5 separate regions of the Homo sapiens genome follow, and regions 2, 3, 4 and 5 are each linked to region 1. The links are contacts of gene promoters, found by promoter capture Hi-C in blood cells and fetal thymus (Javierre and others, 2016). All regions are on one chromosome and are shown on one strand. The core of a region is centred on a gene start or on the middle of the fragment in contact, and the rest is flanking DNA. Distances in the headings are between cores, read along the strand shown.

The links. The method cuts DNA at HindIII sites, captures the fragments that hold promoters and counts their contacts. A CHiCAGO score of 5 or more calls a contact.
Region 2: a fragment that was not itself captured here is called in contact with the fragment with the promoter of ADRA2B in region 1 in 4 of 17 cell types (total B cells, naive CD8 T cells, total CD4 T cells and 1 more); the score reaches 6.5 in total B cells.
Region 3: a fragment that was not itself captured here is called in contact with the fragment with the promoter of ADRA2B in region 1 in 2 of 17 cell types (total B cells and activated CD4 T cells); the score reaches 5.9 in total B cells.
Region 4: a fragment that was not itself captured here is called in contact with the fragment with the promoter of ADRA2B in region 1 in 1 of 17 cell types (erythroblasts); the score reaches 5.7 in erythroblasts.
Region 5: a fragment that was not itself captured here is called in contact with the fragment with the promoter of ADRA2B in region 1 in 3 of 17 cell types (total CD8 T cells, neutrophils and total B cells); the score reaches 6.7 in total CD8 T cells.

Annotation. Positions count from the first base shown.
Region 1 is chr2:96,115,225-96,117,924 of GRCh38, reverse strand. ADRA2B (adrenoceptor alpha 2B) reads left to right here and starts at 1,354. Exons shown (of 1, transcript NM_000682.7): 1 at 1,354-2,700. The coding sequence starts at 1,776. RefSeq lists silencers at 525-594, 635-1,094, 1,105-1,264, 1,365-1,454. The HindIII fragment of the contact is 8,066 bases long and covers 1-2,700 here.
Region 2 is chr2:96,576,777-96,579,476 of GRCh38, reverse strand. No RefSeq gene overlaps it. Among named protein-coding and RNA genes, the nearest start is that of ARID5A, 41 kb to the right of the region's middle. The HindIII fragment of the contact is 229 bases long and covers 1,247-1,475 here.
Region 3 is chr2:96,515,845-96,518,544 of GRCh38, reverse strand. No RefSeq gene overlaps it. Among named protein-coding and RNA genes, the nearest start is that of NEURL3, 12 kb to the right of the region's middle. The HindIII fragment of the contact is 4,133 bases long and covers 1-2,700 here.
Region 4 is chr2:96,464,526-96,467,225 of GRCh38, reverse strand. No RefSeq gene overlaps it. Among named protein-coding and RNA genes, the nearest start is that of NEURL3, 39 kb to the left of the region's middle. The HindIII fragment of the contact is 673 bases long and covers 1,059-1,731 here.
Region 5 is chr2:96,491,696-96,494,395 of GRCh38, reverse strand. No RefSeq gene overlaps it. Among named protein-coding and RNA genes, the nearest start is that of NEURL3, 12 kb to the left of the region's middle. RefSeq lists an enhancer at 761-1,420. The HindIII fragment of the contact is 349 bases long and covers 1,228-1,576 here.

The sequences.
Region 1 (2,700 bases), core at 105-2,604:
GAGAGGAGGTCCAGCAGGTTGGACGGGGCCTGGGGGAGCCCCACTGTCAGAGGTGGATTGGTGCTTATTTATACAGAGGATGCCTTGCAGAGTCGTGGGCTGTGAATAAGAGGCCTGGCTCGAGGCGGGGCTTATGACATTAGGGGCTCCAGAACCGGGGAAACATGCCCTCAGGGCTGCCCAGGCTGGTGCTGGTGGCGGTGTGGCAGGGAGAGTGAGTTGGGGCCCTGAGGGAGAACAGTTGCTCATAGCGCTTTGAAGGCGAGTGGGGGGCCTTAGTCTGAAGTTTCTTTTTACCCCAACCCTCTTTCCACTGTCACCCCCAGAAGGGCTTCAGTGTGTATGTGGGGCAGGACCGCAGCAGGGAGGGAGGGTCAACCCCTTCCCCCGGGGTCACTACAGAAGCGGAGGGACGCTCCTCTCTTCACGGCTGCCCCTGAGACCTGCTTTTTCTCGGAGCTGTGTGACAAAGTCCCCACCCTTTACTCCCCCACGGCAAGGAAGGGACCTCCCCTTCGCATTAGTCAAGGGGCGGCAGCTCGCCCTGTGCCCCGTACAAACCCTTGGCTGAATCGCAGTTGATGCTGTGATTCGAGTCCAAGCCAGTTTCCCTGTTACCTCCTTTGCCCTTAATGGAGGAAACTGAGGCAGCTGCGGAGACACAAGAAGCCGAAGTCCTAAGACCCAGGCTGCGAGCGCTGGCTCCGGGACCCGGGCTGCCGCTGACGGGCTGGGCCCGCGGGCGGCAGCAGGGGGCGCTCGCAGGCCGGGACGCGCCCTCCTCGCGCGGCGCTGGCCCGACGGAGCTGGTCCGCGAGGGGCAGCGCCTGGGAAAGGGTCGGGACCGGCTCCCCGCTCCCCGCTCCCCCACCTCTCCGCAGGGCGTCTCCACGGCCGAGCCGGGCGGGGTTGTGGTGTATTGCGACCCGGCGCCCCAGCCCCACGCCCGCCCTGCCCTCCCTGCGGGCTCCCGAGCGGCGGAAGGCAGAGCAGGGCGCACCGGCGCCGGGCCCAGCCCGGTTCCCCCGGGAGAAGTGTCCCGTCCCGGTGCCGGCCCGCGCGCTAGCTCCGCGTCCCGGCTCCCGGCACCCACCGACCCCTCCACAGCTGCGCGCGTCCTGCCTGGGGGCCGGAGACCCCGGCCGCCGGGCCCCTCCGCTCTCCCGAGGCGCGGCCGCCGGGAGGAAGGCAGGTAGAGGCGCTGGGCGGGGTCCGGGCGCGGGAAGTCCCGGGCTCACGCCTCCCGCGAAGCGCACCTTCAGCCCACCTCGGTCCGCCCACCGCCCCGCCTCCCGCCCGCTCCCGCGCCCGCCTCCAGTCTCCGCCTTCCTCCAGCCGCTCTCCCCGCTCCCCACTCCCCTGCAGGCGCGGCTGGGGCGAAAGCCTGCGAGCTGAGCGGGCGCAAGGTCCTCCGCGCCTCCTTTAAGAACCGGCCCAGCCCGGCCCGCGCCCCCAGAGCGTACGGCATCCGCGTGGCGGGAGGGCGCGACTTTCTCCGGTCCCGGGCGGGACGGGGACGGCGGCGGGACAACTTGGGAAACTTCTCTGGGGCGGACGGCAGGGACCCCGGGCACCGGTGGAGGAGGATGTAGGAGGGCGGCTGCTGGTCCTGGGTGTTCCCGACCTCCTAGGCCCCGCTCGTCCAGGCCATGGGGCTCCAGCGCCCTCGGCGCCGCCCGAGGGGCGACGCTCTTGTCTAGCCGAGCCGGGCAGCGCTGTCGTCCACGGTGCGCACTGGGCGGGCAGCGCTCCCTCTGCCCACCTCCCGCCCCGTCATGGACCACCAGGACCCCTACTCCGTGCAGGCCACAGCGGCCATAGCGGCGGCCATCACCTTCCTCATTCTCTTTACCATCTTCGGCAACGCTCTGGTCATCCTGGCTGTGTTGACCAGCCGCTCGCTGCGCGCCCCTCAGAACCTGTTCCTGGTGTCGCTGGCCGCCGCCGACATCCTGGTGGCCACGCTCATCATCCCTTTCTCGCTGGCCAACGAGCTGCTGGGCTACTGGTACTTCCGGCGCACGTGGTGCGAGGTGTACCTGGCGCTCGACGTGCTCTTCTGCACCTCGTCCATCGTGCACCTGTGCGCCATCAGCCTGGACCGCTACTGGGCCGTGAGCCGCGCGCTGGAGTACAACTCCAAGCGCACCCCGCGCCGCATCAAGTGCATCATCCTCACTGTGTGGCTCATCGCCGCCGTCATCTCGCTGCCGCCCCTCATCTACAAGGGCGACCAGGGCCCCCAGCCGCGCGGGCGCCCCCAGTGCAAGCTCAACCAGGAGGCCTGGTACATCCTGGCCTCCAGCATCGGATCTTTCTTTGCTCCTTGCCTCATCATGATCCTTGTCTACCTGCGCATCTACCTGATCGCCAAACGCAGCAACCGCAGAGGTCCCAGGGCCAAGGGGGGGCCTGGGCAGGGTGAGTCCAAGCAGCCCCGACCCGACCATGGTGGGGCTTTGGCCTCAGCCAAACTGCCAGCCCTGGCCTCTGTGGCTTCTGCCAGAGAGGTCAACGGACACTCGAAGTCCACTGGGGAGAAGGAGGAGGGGGAGACCCCTGAAGATACTGGGACCCGGGCCTTGCCACCCAGTTGGGCTGCCCTTCCCAACTCAGGCCAGGGCCAGAAGGAGGGTGTTTGTGGGGCATCTCCAGAGGATGAAGCTGAAGAGGAGGAAGAGGAGGAGGAGGAGGAGGAAG
Region 2 (2,700 bases), core at 112-2,611, 460 kb before region 1:
CTGGAAAAGGCATACATATTGAGAGTAGAAATGTTGGCCAGTATAGAAAAGCATAAAGAAGAAAAAAAAGAATATCTATAATCTCATCAACCAGAAGCATTGTCTGTTTACATTTTAGTGTGTTTGTTTCTAGTCCTTTTCCATACATATTTTTCAGTAGTTGGAATCACACCATGCATGTAGTTTTTTATTAGTTTTTGTAATGAGTTGGCACCAGAATTCCTCTTGGGGAAGAGAGCTTTTGGTTTGGGGAAGGTTCCTTGAGAAACTGGAATAGATGAGATGGCTCTGACTGTAAGGTATTAGTAGCTCAAGCAAAGGATGGTTAATATCTCTGTAGGAGAGAGTGGATTTTTTTATATTTACTGGTGCTTTTGAAGAGAAGGTGGCTAGGGAAGCATCCTGATGGCAGGGTGGCCAAGGGGCAGGTTAAGAATGGCCTACAAAACTGATGACTTATTCTCCCATTCTTCATACCACTAGAATTACAGTGTTGTGGAAGACTTGGGGGAGATCCCTTTCTCAGGGAGGGATGGGCATGTAGCCCAGTCCTGGCTAGTGAATTTTAAGGGGACTGTGCCAGAGGCTACTGGGAAGGGTTTCCTCCTGATAAAAAGGGAGGGGCACGTGAGGAGAAATTCTCTGCCCTGCATTGACCTTTGTTTCCTGCCCCAACTTGCAACTTGAAGAGAAAGGCCAAGGATTAAGAATTAGGACTCATTAGGCCGGGCACGGTGGCTCACACCTGTAATCCCAGCACTTTGGGAGGCCGAGGCAGGCAGATCATGAGGTCATGAGATCGAGACCATCCTGGCTAACACGGTGAAATCTCGTCGGTACTAAAAATAGAAAAAAATTAGCCGGGCGTGGTGGCGGGTCCCTGTAGTCCCAGTTACTCAGGAGGCTGAGGCAGGAGAATAGCTTGAACCCAGGTGGTGGAGCTTGCAGTGAGCCGAGATCACGCCACTGCACTCCAACCTGGGTGACAGAGCGAGACACTGTCTCAAAAAAAAAAGTATTAGGACTCATTAGCCAGGCGGGTACACGCCTGTAAACTCAGCTACTCAGGAGAAGGGAGGATCACTTGAGACCGGGAGTTCAAGACCAGCCTGGGTAACATAGTGAGACCCCTGTCTCCAAAAAAAAAATTTTTTTTAATTAGCCAGACATGGTGGCATGCACCTGTAGTCCCAGTTACTCAAGAGACTGAGGTGGGAAGGTTTCTTGAGCCCGAGAGTTCAAAGCTTCGGTAAGCCATGATTGAGCTACTGCACTCCATATCCTGGGAGACGGAGCAAGACCCTGTCTCAAAAAAAAAAAAGAAATAAAAAAAGAATTAGGACCCTGGCCCCCATTCTCAGCTCTGTCTCTGTGTCATTTGTTAATTCTGAGTCCTGCTTGCATCTTGGCATTGATTCCACCCACCCCCTCCTCCCCCAAGTAGGGAGAACAATAACAATGCTTACATTCAAGCTTTATCCTAGGCCATCATTACTGGTATTCTATAGTTCAGGGAAAAACTGAGGCACAGAGAGGTTAAGTAACTTGCCCAAATCACACAGCTGGTAAGTGGCAGAACCATAGCCGAATTCTGGCAGTCCACTGCAAAGCCCACTCTCAAGCAATCTCTAATCGCAATGACTTGGCTCTCAGGGTTGTGGTGGGTAAGCCTGCTGTGCTCGGAAACTGAATAGTAGCTCATGGCCTATCCATGATAGGTAAAGGGTTGATTGGTTGCAAACCTCTTATCTAAATGGCCTGTAAAAGCACACACTGTGCTTGCTCACAGTGCCCAGAGACCACGTGGGAGGTGCCAAATATGGGTGGTAACAGGCAAGGAAGAGGGAGTATCTGTACCAAATCTGGTTTTGAGGAAGAATTGTATGTCATGTTGAATTGACAGTCTGGCTAATTGGATGGGTAGATGGCTCCTACATGGGTGTCGTAGGCTCTGGCAATGCTGGGCATCCCATTTTCCCATAACTTGTCAGGCTTAAAGTGATTACTGAGGAAGGTGGAAACCAGGCTTGACCACTTGGTTCTTGGTCCATGTGTTCAGACTTCCCTAGAGAGCACCTGTCCTGGAGGATCTAAGCCAGGGCTTCTCATGGTGAGCCCTCTCCGAGAGTGGAGAAGCAGACCAAGGCAGTGGGGAGTGGGACTCTTCTTATGTGGATCATGCCCAGCACCAAATGAGATTGATTCCAGATTAGGTCAGCAGTCATTCTAGACCAGATGGTCCCTATGGAAAAAAAGTGGAGAGTTAGAACAGGGAAGGGTGAGCAGCAAAAGATGCAAAGGAGAGGGAAAACTGGAACAAGGGACAATAATTTCAAATCTGTAGGTTTGTCTTTTTCCCTCTCTTCCTAAGCAGTTTAGTCCTAAAGCCACTAAATAATGCACAGCCAAAAGGGAAAATATTCGTGCATGTGGCAGGGGGAGAAGCCAGCACTAACTTTTGCTAGAAGTGTTCATTGGAGCCCCAGAAAATCCCCTGGGTTCCAGACCTAGTCCTCTGCCACGATCGTGTGGTAATAACCCCAATTTTCCCTTGATAATTGGGGTCAGTCACTTCAGCCCGCAAAGTCACTGCTCTTTTTTGATTTAATGTCATGAGGCACCCAAAAATGTCTAAATGGAGGCAGTCTCAGCTTCCAGTTTGATGGAGCCATTGTTGGGTCCCTGGTGGAAATAGTCCTC
Region 3 (2,700 bases), core at 183-2,682, 400 kb before region 1:
TGTGATTTCTGAGACCAGATTAGAAAAGGTCACCCATCTTTCCTAGTTCTTTGGAGCACTTGCTCTCTGGACACTCCCATGTAGAGGCCATTTGTAGATGTTACAGTCAACAGTCTTCACTCAGCATGGTCTTTGAATAATCTTAGCTCAGATCCTAGATATGTGAGTGAAGGGGCCTCCAGGTGCTTCCAGCCCTCAGCCACATGAGCCATTCAGGACTTTCCAGCTGGAGCCCCAGACATCATTTAAAAAGTTGAGCTGGCTGGGCTTGGTGGCTCATGCCTGTAATCCCAGCACTTTGGGAGGCCGAGGTGGGTGGATCACTTGAGCTCAGGGGCTCAATACCAGCCTGGCCAACATGGTGAAACCCCGTCTCTACTAAAAATACAAGAATTAGCCGGTCGTGGTTGTGCACGCCTGTAATCCCAGCTACTTGGGAGGCTGAGGCAGAAGAATCGCTTGAACCTGGGAGGTGGAGGTTTCAGTGAACTGAGATTGTGCCATTGCACTCCAGCCTGGGCAACAAGAGCGAAACACCATCTCAAAAAAAAAAAAAAAAAGTCGAGCCATCCTTGCTGTATCTGTTTGAGTTCCTAACCCACAAAACCTGTGAGCATAATAAAATGGCTGTTCTTTTACTTCACTAAATTTGGGGTGGCTTGTTATACCCCCAAAAAATAACTGGGACACTTCGATTGCATATATTTCCTGTGGGTTCCATTTCCATCTTACCAATATATATCCTACAGTTCCTATAGTAATTATTTCAGTGAGGATCTTGAGTGATAAAACTTGTTTTTGTCTGCAAATATCTTTTCCCCCTTACTCTTAAATAATAATTTTCATGGGTCTGGAACTTGAAGTTCATGGTTGTCTTCCCTCAGCACATTGAATATATTTATGTTTATTGTTTTTGGCAGATATTATTAAGAAAATTTGTCTCCAATCTAATTATTGATCCTTTTAAATTAAGCTGTATTTTCTCCCTAGTTGCTTTTAAGATCTACCTTTGGTGTTCTGCAATGTCTATTTGTATATTTATTTTTATCATGCTCAGTAATCAATGGGCCTCTTCAATCTGAAGATTTATGGCTATTTCTTGTTCTAGAAAAACTTCATGCATTATTTGTTTGAATGTGGCAAATATTATCACTTTCTGATTCATTTTGACTTTTTCTTCTGGAACTCCTATTAGTGGTATATTGGACTTTCTCGTTTTATTATCCATGTCTTTTAGCTTTTCTTTCAAATATTCTCTTTGCCAGAGTTCTGGTGAATTTCTGCAGATCTGCCTTCCAGTACACCTATTCTCAATTCAACTGTGTCTAATCTGCTGGCTTGCCAGTATATTGTGTTTACAAATTCAATAACCATATTCTTTTGTCTCTGTGGTTCTTTTCCAAATCTGTTGTTTTACACAGTATCCTGTTCTTTATCATTTTTATTCCTTCCTTTGTATTTTTAATCATTTTAATATGCTAATTTTATATCTCTTTTGGCTTGTCCTATTATTTCAGGTTCTTAGAGGTAATGATTTTCTTTTTCCTTTTTTTTTTTTTTGAGATGGAGTCTCACTCTGTAGTCCAGGCTGGAGTGCAGTGGTGCAATCTCGGCTCACTGTAAGCTCCGCCTCCCGGGATCACGCCATTCTCCTGCCTCAGACTCCCGTAGCTGGGACTACAGGTGCCCGCCACCACGCCTGGCTAATTTTTTTGTATTTTTAGTAGAGACAGGGTTTCACCGTGTTAGCCAGGATGGTCTCGATCTCCTGACCTCGTGATCCATCTGCCTCAGCCTCCCAAAGTGCTGGGATTACAGGCGTGAGCCACCACGCCCAGCTGGAGTTAATGATTTTCTTGTGTGTTGTGCCTGCTGGCTCTCCTTCATGGCAGATGGTTTCTTCATGTGATTTGTAGCTGTTGTTTGTGAACTCATCTGCAGTGGAGTTGTTTTGTTCCATGGGAGTCCTATATATTCTGGATTGTGAAAATGGCCTCAGAGATGTTTTGTATTTGTTTCTGACAACTGCTCCCAAGGGCTCATGGGGGAGCATTTTTGTGTAATTTTTCATCTTGGGAATTCTTTGCCATATGGATATCATAAATTTGGCTGCCACCTTCATGAATAGTTTTGGTTTTCAGTTTTGATTTTTCCCAGGAAACTTTTCTTCCACCCAGAGGCCTGGGCAAAGACAAAATTCATGTGTCACCTCCTAGTTTTGTGGGTAATTCTTTTCTGAGGGGCCATCCTTCCAGGGTTCTTGCTTTATACAGAGGTCTCAGTTCCAGTTCTCCACAAGGCCACACCTCTGGATCCTAGTGGGTGTTGAACCCTCAGCTCCCGTTGGTGGGGCCCCCGTCCATGTCCAGTTTCTCACTGGGCCCCCTGGGTTAAAGCCCAAATCTGGCTCTAAGTTCTCTCTGTACACTCGACACCTCAATGCTTCTCCACTCCTTTTTCAAGTTCCACTGTTGTTCTAACATCTTTCACTTATATTTGGTACTGAGTTTCTCAGTGTTGGCAGGGGAGGTGGCATCAGCATTAGCTGAGTCCATGGTGTTGCCAGAATCTGAAGTCAGTGGTCTTGATGTTTAGCAGAGCACCTCAGGGAGATTTGGGGGCACGCAAAGTTAGGCCTGGGGATAATATTAGTTCAGAGGGGGAGCTGTACTGCTCTGCATGAGAAATAGATTTGGGGGT
Region 4 (2,700 bases), core at 146-2,645, 350 kb before region 1:
AGCACGGGACAGGAGAGAAAGAAAGCCAATGGAGTGAGCTTTGTGACCTCCAATTTCCTACCTGGAGGCAGTTCCCAGAGTGTAGTATAGAAAGGGCATCCCCAGCAAGGTGTGGCAGTCTTGCTGAGTAGAGGACAATGGAATCGGTGTTTGCTAGGCTGTGGTAATCAGAATTTGGAAAGCAGAGTACCAGAGACAAAGAATCCAGGTGGAGAAAAGCTCCAGAAATACTAATAGGGGTCACATAAGCTTTTTGGCTGAATATCAGTATGTGAATGAATAAGGCGAAAACTCCATAAAGCCAGACAAAAAAAACCCAACTACCTGGGAAAGAACAATGACTGCATGCCAAATAATTCTCACATCTTACACAGAGCCAGGAACTATTCAAGTTTCTACCAGCCAAAGAACGGGGAGTTCTTTGAACACATGGGACATTGGCTAGAGACCCCAGAACAGCTATTCACAGAGTGAAACCACACTGAGACAAATAAAGGTTCTGGAAGCCAGTTGCGATGGTGCGTGCCCATAGGCCCACTCAGGAGGCTGAGGCCTGAGCATTACTTGAGACCAGGAGTTCAAGGCCAGCCTGGGCAACATAGAAAGACCCTGTCTCTAAAAGAAAGAGAAACAGGATATGATGGAACTGCTTTTTAAGGTAGTTAAAGGAGGTGCCTTGGAGAACTATTTATGCAAAATTAGGGCTACAGTCTCAGTAGAAGTCCACAGTAGAGAAGGGCTTATCCAAAAGGTTTGTAGGAGGCTGAGACAGGCAGACCATTTGAGCCCAGGTGCTGGAGACCTGCCAGGGCAACATAGTGAGACCCTATGTCTACAGAGCAGAGCTGGGGCTCTGAGAGTTAAAAAAAAAAAAACTTAAAAAAAAATTAGCCAGGTGTGGTGGTGCATACCTGTAGCATCAGCTACTCGGTAGCTGAGGTGGGAGAATTGCTCGAGCCCAGGAGGTCAAGGCTGCAGTGAGCTGTGATCACACCACTGCACTCCAGCCTGGGCGACAGAGCGAGACCCCCGTCTCAAAAACAAACAAACAGAAAGCTTTGTAAGGGTGACTTTTGTCTTTAGTGAAGTGAACCCCACTAAGATTTACAAGAAACTCACAAAGGTTTTAAGAAAATGGTTGGCAGAAACGCCATCAGCATGGACTGAAAGTGACAGAAACAATACAAAATAGGATTAATATCCTTATAAAAAGAGACACCAGAGAACTCATCTTCCTCTCTTGCCATGTGAGGACACAGTGAGAAAGGCCACCTACAAGCCAGGAAGAGGGCCCTTAACAGAACCTGACCATCTTGGCACTCTGATCTCGGACTTCCAGCCTCAGGAACTGTAGGAAATCAGTATGTGGTTAAGCCCCCAGTCGATGGGGCTTTATTAAGGCAGCCTGAGCTGAACCATATGAAGAGCAAATGCAGCGGCAAGGGCACCACCTTGCAGGTCTTTAAAGAGTCTGTGGAGAGCCTGGGGGAACTTGGTGGGGTTTCCTGGACCATTGAAGAAATTGATTTGAACAAAGGGAATGTAGGTTTTAAATATCAGAGAATCTGATCTGCTTGGAAACTAGAACTTTAACACAGCGGATTTTAAATGTCTGGTTGTGCCCATTAATGATAGACTGGATAAAGAAAATGTGACACATATACACTGTGGAATACTATACAGCCATAAAAAGAATGAGTTCATGTCCTTTGCAGGGACATGGATGAAGCTTGAAGCCATCATTCTCAGCAAACTAACACAGGAACACAAAGCCGAATACCACATGTTCTCACTCATAAGTGGGACTTGAACAATAAGAACACATGGATACAGGGAGGGGAATATCACATACCAGGGCCTGTCAGAGCATGAGGGACAAGGGGAGGGAGAGCATTAGGAAAAATACCTAATGTGTGTGGGGCTTAAAACCTAGATGATGGGTTGATAGGTGCAGCAAACCACCATGGCACATGTATACCTATGTAACAAACCTGCACATTCTGCACATGTATCCCAGAACTTAAAGTAAAATAAAAATAAATAAATAAATGTCTGTTTGATGTTTCCATTGCTTTTCCCTTATGCATAGTTTTCCACAAAAATCTCTCTTGCCAACTAAAGCCTTACGAGTCACAAGGTTTTTCATGAATGGCACACTTTCCAAAGGGCCTGAGAGATGCTGCATCTGGAAAATCCTTCCTCGAACCTCACCTTGAATACTGCCCCCTACACACAGACTCTCCTAACCTGCCCTCTTCCAGGTGTCATCAACTAATGGCTCCATCATCCAGAATTGGCAGGGCATGACCTCCAAGACTAGGTCATTAAAGGCATGGCTGCTTCCTCCCCACTGTCTCTTGGATTACCTGCCCTTGGTAATCTCTTGGATTACCTGCCCTTGAGGAAGCCAGCTGTCACATTGTGAGAAAACTCAAGCAGCCCCGGTGGAGAGGTCTACATGAAGAGAAGCTGAAGCCTCCTGCCAACAGCCATGTTAGTGAGCCCAACAGTCCCCAGTCAAGTCTTCAGAGAGAAGACAGCAACCCTAGCCATATCTCAAATGCATTCTCATGCAAGGCGCCTACCCAGAAGCACCTAGCTAAGTTGCTCCCAAATTCTTGACTCACAGAAGCTGTGTGAGATAATAAATATTTATTGTTTCAAACCCTTGAGTTTTAGGGTAATTTGTTATGCAGCAAT
Region 5 (2,700 bases), core at 153-2,652, 380 kb before region 1:
CTGGAGGAAAAGGACTGTGAACCAAAAATTCTGTATCCAGCAAAACTGTCCTTCAAAAGTGAAGAAGAAATTAAGATATTCCCAGATAAACAAGAACAGAAAATTCATTACCAGTACATGTGCTCTACAAGAAATATTCCCATATTTCTTTCCCATATTTCTTTAAGACTGAAATGAAAGGAATGATCTCTAACATTTCTCTAATTTTATAGATAGGAAAACTGAGGGGCAGGTAGAAGGAATCATCTTATAAATGATGGGATAAGAATTAGATCCTTGTTATAACCACACTGATGCAATCATTTCTTCATTCATCAAATTAATTCCAAGAATATTGAAACATCTGACTCTAGAAGCCATCTTAGTATGAGCACAGACTTGCCTATGTCCTTGGGAGCAATACTGGGGAATAAATAATTATATTCAATGTGGTAAGTGTTAGAATAGCTTATACTGGCTGGGTGCGGTGGCTGACGCCTGTAATCCCAGCACTTTGGGAGGCTGAGGCAGGCAGATCACAAGGTCAGGAGTGTGAGACCAGCTTGGCCAATATGGTGAAACCCTGTCTCTACTAAAAATACAAAAATTAGCCAGGCGTGGTGGCGCACGCCTGTAGTCCCAGCTACTCAGGAAGCTGAGGCAGAAGACTCGCTTGAACCTGAGAGGCAGAGGTTGCAGTGAGCCAAGATCATGCCACTGCACTCCAGCCTGGGCGACAGAGTGAGACTCTGTCAAAAAAAAAAAAAGCCTATACTAAGAGCTTTTCAACTTCCATTTCAAGATGATAGACTGAGCACATGTAGTTGTTTCCTTTTATTCCAAGTCTCTATACATTGCTCAGAATGATTTAAACAAATATATTTCTTCCCTATAAAACAATATAGGGAAAATCTGGTGAACTAAAACCACAATAAAAGGTGGAAAACAGGTGGGATCAGATTAAATATGGAAACCGTGCCAGAGGAGAGGACTGCCGCAAAAGGTGAGAGCAGCTCTAGGAATGCTTCAAACTCAGGACTTGTGAACTGGGAACCGCAGGTGGTCCATGATCGACTGACCGTGACTGGTAGAGGCTCACAGAATAGACAGCCAGGAATGTTCACCTCAGGCCACACAGTGAGTCACAGAGGTGTCTTCCCATGGGCAGGATCAGTGAGAGGTGAACAATTGGGTGTGAGGCAAGACAAAGCCCCAGAGATTAACAGCTCCCAAGGATAGCAGGAAGCTTCCACATCTGGAAGTTTCACCATTGGCTCATGCTGCCCAGCAGCACATCCCATCCCTTCATTCCACTTTACACAGGTACACCAAGTCATAGCTGCATGTCCTGCACCTGTCTGCAAGCAGGCCACTTAGGCTAACAAGGAATTTCAGATCCAAAGGTGAACTCACAGCCAAGAAAAGCCAAATATTTGAAAAAAGTGAATATCATGATGGAAAGGACTGACAGCAAAAGGAGTTCATACCTGAAAAAATAGGGTTAATAAAGCATACAAACCTGGGCTTTAGGATAACTATAATCACATATGAAAGGATATTGCATTGAAAAATCTAGATACCTTTGGAATTAGAAGCTTGACTATTAAAATTTAAAATAACTTATTTGATAGAGTGAGTAGCAGAAAGTATGTAGCTGAAAAATGTATTAATGATCTGGAATCAACCAGAATGCATTCCAAAATTAACAAGAGATGAAATATATAAAAAGAGAATAAACAGAATAGATGAAGTTCAAATAACCATCCAATGTGAATTCCAGAAGAAAAAAATAGAGAAAATGGACAAAAGAGAAACTCAAAGAAAGATTAGAGCTGGGCATGGTGGCTCATGCCTATAATCCCAGCACTTTGGGAGGCCAAGGTGGGAGGATCGCTTGTGGCCAGGAGTTCAAGACCAGCCTGGCCAACATATAAGACTCCCATCTCTACCAGAAATAAAAATAAAAGAACAATTTCTCAGAATTGAAGAAAGACATAGCTTTTCAGATTGAAAAAGCCCCCCAGTTGCCAAACAGAATAAGTGAAGAAAAGACTTTCATTTTGACACATACTGGTGACATTTCAGAGTACCAGGGATAAACAGAAAACCCAAGAAGAAAAAAAAAACACCCCAAAACAGATCACACACAAAAGTATTAGAATCACATTATCAGTAGGCTTTTTCTCAGCAATACTTGGTACAGAATGACAATAGAACAATATCTTCAAAGTTCAGGGGGATTTTCTTTAATTGAAGCATATTTACTATAATAATATGCACATATCTTTTTTTTTTCTTTTTGAGACAAGGTCTCACTCTGTCATCCAGGCTGGAGTGCAGTGGCACAATCATGGCTCACTGCAGCCTCCGCCTCCCTGGCCTCAGGTGATCCTCCCACCTCAGCCTTCAGAGTAAGCTGGGACTACAGGCACATGCTGCCACACCTGACTAATTTTTTAATATTTAGTACAGATGAGATCTTGCAATATTGCCCAGGCTGGTCTTGAACTCCTGGGCCCAAGTGATCCACTTGTGTTGGTTTCCCAAAGTACTGAGATTATAGGCATGAGCCACTGTGCCTGGCCTATGCACAGATCTTAAGTCCCCATTTTGATGAGGAAATAATTTTGAAATCTAAAATTCTGCAGACAGCGACTCTCTCATTCAAAGGTGAGCGTAAAATGAAGAAATATTCAGATATAAAAAGACTCAAAGTTTATC